2 separate regions of the Homo sapiens genome follow, and region 2 is linked to region 1. The links are contacts of gene promoters, found by promoter capture Hi-C in blood cells and fetal thymus (Javierre and others, 2016). All regions are on one chromosome and are shown on one strand. Each heading gives the region's core, a stretch centred on a gene start or on the middle of the fragment in contact. The rest is flanking DNA. Distances are from core to core; before and after follow the strand shown.

The links. Contacts are between HindIII fragments. The CHiCAGO score rates a contact against its expected background, and 5 or more counts as called.
Region 2: a fragment that was not itself captured here is called in contact with the fragment with the promoter of RNF114 in region 1 in 1 of 17 cell types (naive CD4 T cells); the score reaches 5.3 in naive CD4 T cells.

Annotation. Positions count from the first base shown.
Region 1 is chr20:49,934,893-49,937,880 of GRCh38, forward strand. RNF114 (ring finger protein 114) reads left to right here and starts at 1,505. Exons shown (of 6, transcript NM_018683.4): 1 at 1,505-1,660. The coding sequence starts at 1,521. RefSeq lists silencers at 706-785, 1,352-1,541, 2,000-2,294, 2,580-2,874 and an enhancer at 1,154-1,759. The HindIII fragment of the contact is 14,536 bases long and covers 1-2,988 here.
Region 2 is chr20:49,318,678-49,321,665 of GRCh38, forward strand. No RefSeq gene overlaps it. Among named protein-coding and RNA genes, the nearest start is that of SNORD12, 39 kb to the left of the region's middle. RefSeq lists enhancers at 1-358, 359-940. The HindIII fragment of the contact is 1,705 bases long and covers 721-2,425 here.

The DNA of each region.
Region 1 (2,988 bases), core at 255-2,754:
AGCAGTGCTCAGGGGAAATTTTATAGCTATAAGTGCTTCAAAATCATAGACAGAAAATTGCCAGGGCCTGGGGGTATGGGGATGGGAGGAGGGAAGAGGAAGTTATTGTTTAATGGGGACAGAATTTCAGTTTCAGTTTAGCAAGAAGACCAGAATTTTAGAGATAGCTGATGGTGATGATTGCACAATATGAAATGAATGTACTTTGTTGTTGGGGTTTTTTTGTTTTGTTTTGTTGTTGTTGTTGTTGTTTTTTGAGAGGGAGTCTCGCGCTGTCGCCCAGACTGGAGTGCAGTGGCAAGATCTTGGCTCACTGCAAGCTCCGCCTCCCAGGTTCAAGCCATTCTCCTGCCTCAGCCTCCCGAGTAGCTGGGACTACAGGCGCCCGCCACCACGCCCGGCTAATTTTTTGTATTTTTAGTAGAGACAGGGTTTCACCGTGTTAGCCAGGTTGTGTTTTTGTTTTTTTTTTTTTTTTTCAGACGGAGTTTCGTTCTTGTTGCCCAGGCTGGAGTTTAGTGACTGTTGGAGTGAGTGAGCCATCTTGGCCCACGGCAACCTTCGCCTCCCAGGTCAAAGGCTTTTCCTGCCTCAGCGTCCTGAGTAGCTGAGGCTACAGGCATGGGCAACCACGCCTGGCTAATTTTAGTATTGTTAGTAGAGACGGGGTTTCACCATGTTGGCCAGGCTGCTCTAGTACTCCTAGGCTCAAGCGATCCGCCCACCTCGGCCTCCCAAAGTGCTGAGATTACAGAAGTAAGCCACCTTGCCCAGCTCCTTTGTATAAATAAATGATATTGATTTTCTTCTTGCAGCTCAGGAATTAGATCTGTTATTAGAATTTGCTTAAATTTAAGAAATGGCTGGGTACTGTGGCTCACCGCTGTAATCCCAGCACTTCGGGTTGCCGAGGCAGGCGGATTGCTTGCGTCCAAGAGTTCGAGGCCAGCCTCGGCAACACAGTGAGACCCGCCCGCTCTCTGCACCACTCCTTCCCCCCCTCCTTTCCCCGTCTCTACAAAAAATACAAAAATAAATAAATTAGTCCGGCATGGTGGTGACTGCCTGTGGTCCAGCTACGCAGGAGGCTGAGGTGGGAGGATCGCTTGAACCCCGGTGGTCGAGGCTGCAGGGAGCCATGATCGCGCGCGCCACTGAACACCAGCCTGGGCGACAAAGCAAGACCTTGTCCCAAAATAGATTAAATAAATAAATAAATAAATTTAAGGAAAAAGCAACTTGATTCGAAGATAAATAGTGATAGTGCAAGTGGTGCCGAACTAACGATAAATTTGGAAAACAGCGGCCCACGCGCAGAGCCCGTCCCAATTCTGGCAGCCTTTGGATTTGGCTTCCACGTTTTCCAGATTTCCCTCGGCCTCTAGCTCGCTTGCGTCAGAGGGGCCCCGAGGGGCGGCCCACCCGCTAGCCCCGCCCCCAACCGCTCACCGCCCCGCGAGCCCCGCCCCCTCGGCCTCCTCCTCATCGGCCGCCGTTGCGCGGCGCAGAGCGGCAGCAAGATGGCGGCGCAACAGCGGGACTGCGGGGGTGCTGCGCAGCTGGCGGGGCCGGCGGCGGAGGCTGACCCCCTAGGACGCTTCACGTGTCCCGTGTGCTTAGAGGTGTACGAGAAGCCGGTACAGGTGCCCTGCGGACACGTGTAAGCGGCGAGCCCGGGCCTGGTCGGGGGGCGCTTAACTGGGAAGGGAATGGAGCCGAGGAGCGAGATGGGTCTCAGGGCGGGAGCCAGAGGACCCACCCAGAGGGGCCTCCCGGGGGTGTCCCCCGGGGCTCCTAAGGGCCGTGAAAGCTGCCGGGGCGCTCTTCTGTCCCGCCCCGCTCACTCCTAAGTATCCCGTTCCTCCGCCCGTCTTAGCGGGGCAGCTGCTGTCTGTTGAGCGCCTGCGATGTTCCAGGCGGCCTGTCAGTCTCCTTCCCACACGTGATAGTGGACTCGTGCCCTGCGGGGACTTTAGGCTCCGAAGTCCGCCCTTGGAGAGCCGACGTTTCCTTTCTAGTCCACGTCGCTCTTAAAGCATAGGACATTTGGCGTCGTGTCTAGCTGTGGCGAGTTATTCTACTGTGCACTAAAGTCGGGAGAAACGCTGAACTAGACTAAAACAACAAAAGGGAAGTCTTTATGGGGATCTGGCCAGTTTGCCCTTAGCTGTGAAAGGGGGGTGGGAGTTGGCAGATGGGATTGTTAGCATTCTACTTCCTGTGTAGGAGGTTTGTTTCTTTCAGTTTTCAATTAAGCCTTCATGACCTGAATATTGTGAATAGAGTGGTTATAATGATTAAAGCAGATATGTGTATAAATGTCCAGTCCAGGTCCTGGGCTGTGGCCGGGGCTTTCGAGGTTGGTCAGGTTGGTCGATTTGAATCTAAGCCTTGTTCCATCAGACGCACAAACACATCTGAGTTGAAAGAATTGTAGACAACGTGGCCACCTGCTTCTTGCCTCAGAATTGGCTTTTCCTCTGGCCCCTCTCAGTGCTTATCGTGGGATCACCTTGGCATTGGTCTTGGCAGCGGGCACAGTAGCCATTGCACTCCATGGGCATTATTCTATAGCCACCCTGCAGCGGGGGAGGGTTGGCAGCCATTTTACAGGTGAATACACTGAGGGTCCGAGGCTCTCTTAGGGAAGGGTCACCGTGGCCTAGCTCTTCCCAGATGTACTGCAGGTGACCATTTCAGTAGTCCAGAGAACAGTGCTTGGCACCTAGCTGGCTGCTTTTTGCTTCATCATGTTGCTTTAGGCTATTCATCTTTGCAATTCGGTTAGCCTGGAACTCTTCCCCCCACCCCTCCCTTTTCAGGCTTCAAGTCCCAGGTTAAGTTACCTCACCAAATACCATCCCCATCTAAATTACTTCCCCCACTTCCTTTCTGGGACTTAACTTCCTTCTCCTTGCTTGCACAGAGCAAAACTTAACAGCTCATGACGGAGTGGCCATATCTTTATTGCCCCTGAACTGACTGGAA
Region 2 (2,988 bases), core at 323-2,822, 620 kb before region 1:
AGGGGGCTCTGGGCTTGGAGGGGTCACACGAGCCGAGGGCGGGGCGCGGCGCTTGGGGACTGGAAGGGTGCGCCGCGGGGCAGACGGGACGTGCAGGGGGTCGCGCGGGCAAGGAGGGACGCAGACACTCAGGACCTAAAGGGGAAGCACTGGCTGTGGAGCTGCGAGCCGAGAAAGACGCGCAGGTTATGAACCTGGGTGCGTTCATCTCGGGGGACCTGAAGGAGAGGGACTCGTGGAGAGTTGAGGGGTGTTTCGGAGGAGGGGCGCAAGGACTGCTCACAGGACTTGAAGGGCGGCAGGAAGGTGGAGGATTCGGCCCAGGTGCGGGACGCAGGCGGTGGAAGGGAAATGAGCACAAGAGGCGCAGGCAGGAAGGAGAGCGCCTGGTGCGAGAGAGGAAGGAGCGCACCCAGTAAGCGGTGTCGGGGGGGTCGTGAAGCTTGGAGGGCCTCGAGGGGAGGGAGGCGCTTGGGTTGAGGTAGGGCGCCAGATTTCGCAAATCAAAATACAGCACACCCAGTTAAACTCGAATTTCAGATAAACAAATCTTTCTAGAGAAAAATATGTCCTAAATATCGCATGGGATATACTTATACTAAAAAATTATTTGTTGTTTTTCTGAAATTGAAATCTAACTCGGAGTCCTGTATTTTATCTGAGAGCCCCAGCTGGGGACGGGCGCGGGGCCAAGAGAGCTGCGAGGGAGGAGGGGTTGCAAGCTTCTTTCGGGCGGAGGGGTCACAAGGCGAATGGAGAAGGTGACAAGGAGCATGGAGAAACCAAGAAAAGGGCTAACGCTTGGAGAGCAAGGATGGAAAGACGCTCAAAGCGGAGGCGGAACGGTCTGAGTGATTCCAAAACTAGTGTGTCCAAGCTGGTTAGAACTCAGGCAGGCGGGTCCAGAAGCCGAGGGGCCTGACAGATACGCAGGTGAAGTCCATCTGTGGTCCGCGTGCTGGGCGTGGCCACCGGGCTAGTCCAAGCATTCCTGGTAAAGGCTCCTCCAGAGTGGTACCCACAGCGCTCTATTAAGGGCTATTTTAGTTGAGTCATTAGTGGGAAGGACGCTGCCTATCCCCTCCCCCCCCGCCACCCCACTCCCTTCTTCTAGAGATGGAGCCTTGCTCTGTCGCCCAGGCTGGAGTGCCGTGGTGCGATCATCATTCACTGCAGCCTCGAACTCCTGGGCTCAAGCGATTCTTCTGCCTCAGCCTCCCAAGTAGCTGGATGACAGGCACGCACCACCATGTCTGGCTCTCTATCCTTTTTAAATCCCAGAAGTAAAGTTTTCACACCCACTGGAGACAAAAAAAAAATCTAAATTCTGTCACCCTGTAAAACGGTTATGACCCAACTTTCCTATGTCAGGGAGGAAAGTGATTGATTGGGCCCCTCTACCGTGTGATATCACTAGAGCTTCCTTCAGAAATTTGTTTTAAAAGACAGAGAGGGCGCTTTTAAAAAAATGCATAATGGGTCGGGCACAGTGGCTCATGCTTGTAATCCCAACACTTGGGGAGGCTGTGGGAGGATCATTTGAGGCCAGGAGTTCGAGACCAGCCTGGGCAATATTGGAAGACCCAGTCTCTACAAAAAATTAAAAAAAAATTAGCCTCAAATGGTGATGACTGCCTGTAGCACCAGCTACTCAGGAGACTGAGGTGGGAGAATCACTTGAGCCCAGGAGGTTGAGCCTGCAGTGAGCTATGATTATGCCACTGCACTCCAGCCTGGGTGACAGAGCGAGATCATGTCTCAAAAATAAATAAATAAATAAATAAATAAATAAAAATGTAAGGGACCTAACATCCATTAATCACCTATCCCTCTGTGCCCAGAAGCTGGGCTGGATGTCCCCTGGAACCTGAATACATTCTCCCTGCCCTCTGGGGTTCAGGTATGGAATAACATCCCTGTTTAGCAGTCAAGAAAAGCAAGGCTCAGAGAGGAGAGGGCTTTGGGCAGTCAAGAATTCCCAGCCAGTGGAGGAGCTGGGTCTGATTCTGAGTCTTCTAGCTCCTTGCTGCCAGGAGTGGCCAACGTTGGAAATTCAGGCAGCAGTGAGATGAGAAAGTAATTTTGGATGTGGTGTCTTCTCAAGCCATAGGCAAAAGAGAACTCCTTCCAGATTAAATTTGGGGAAGGACTGCCTGGGGGTGCTTTTGTACTGGTTGGTTTTCTGTGTAGAGAGTTCATGCAGCCGCGGGTCTGTACTGATTGGAGCTGAAGTCCCAGGTTAGCACCACCAACAGGGGCTCCCCTGCCACAGCGCAGGAGTGGGGGCCCAGGATGGGTCCAGGCAAAGGCATCAGTGATACTTTCTCATGGTCTGACCGACACCCACAGAATCACACAATGTTAGCCCCTCCCAAGAGATGTCCTTTCTATACGGAGTGGGGGCTGGAGGAACCAGGAGCCTCAAAGCTTTGCTTTCACCTTTGTTTTGCTCTTTTGGGATCTGCCTCCTTATCTGGAGCAGGGTCTTGTGAAGAGACGCAGGGAAAAGTTCACTTTCCACCTCCCAGGGGAGCAGGCAGGAGGGGACTAGTTAGGAGGCAAAAGATGTAGAGAAGTATTTGCTTTTTTCATGGGCTATTTTTAGGAGATAAAGTCAACTGCCTTAAGTGATCAATTGTAATAGAGGGAGATGTTGAAGATGACTTAAAAAACAAACAAAATCCGCAAACAACAAATCTAATATTTATGAAATACCAAATGTCAGGAAGGTACTATTTTAAGTGCTTGAAGTAAATTGTCTCATTTAAGCCTCATAATAACGCTATGGAACAGTGTTATCATGTCTGTTTTACAGATGAGGAACTAAGGCACAGAGAGGTTAAGTGACGTGTTCTGGGTTGCACAGCTCTTAAACAGCAGATCTGGGATTTGCACTCCAGCAGTCTGACTCCAGATCTCAATATTGTATAGCAGCTCAAGGGTGGCAGAGACTCAAGAATGTTAGGAGAGGGAAGCTTGAGTCTACAG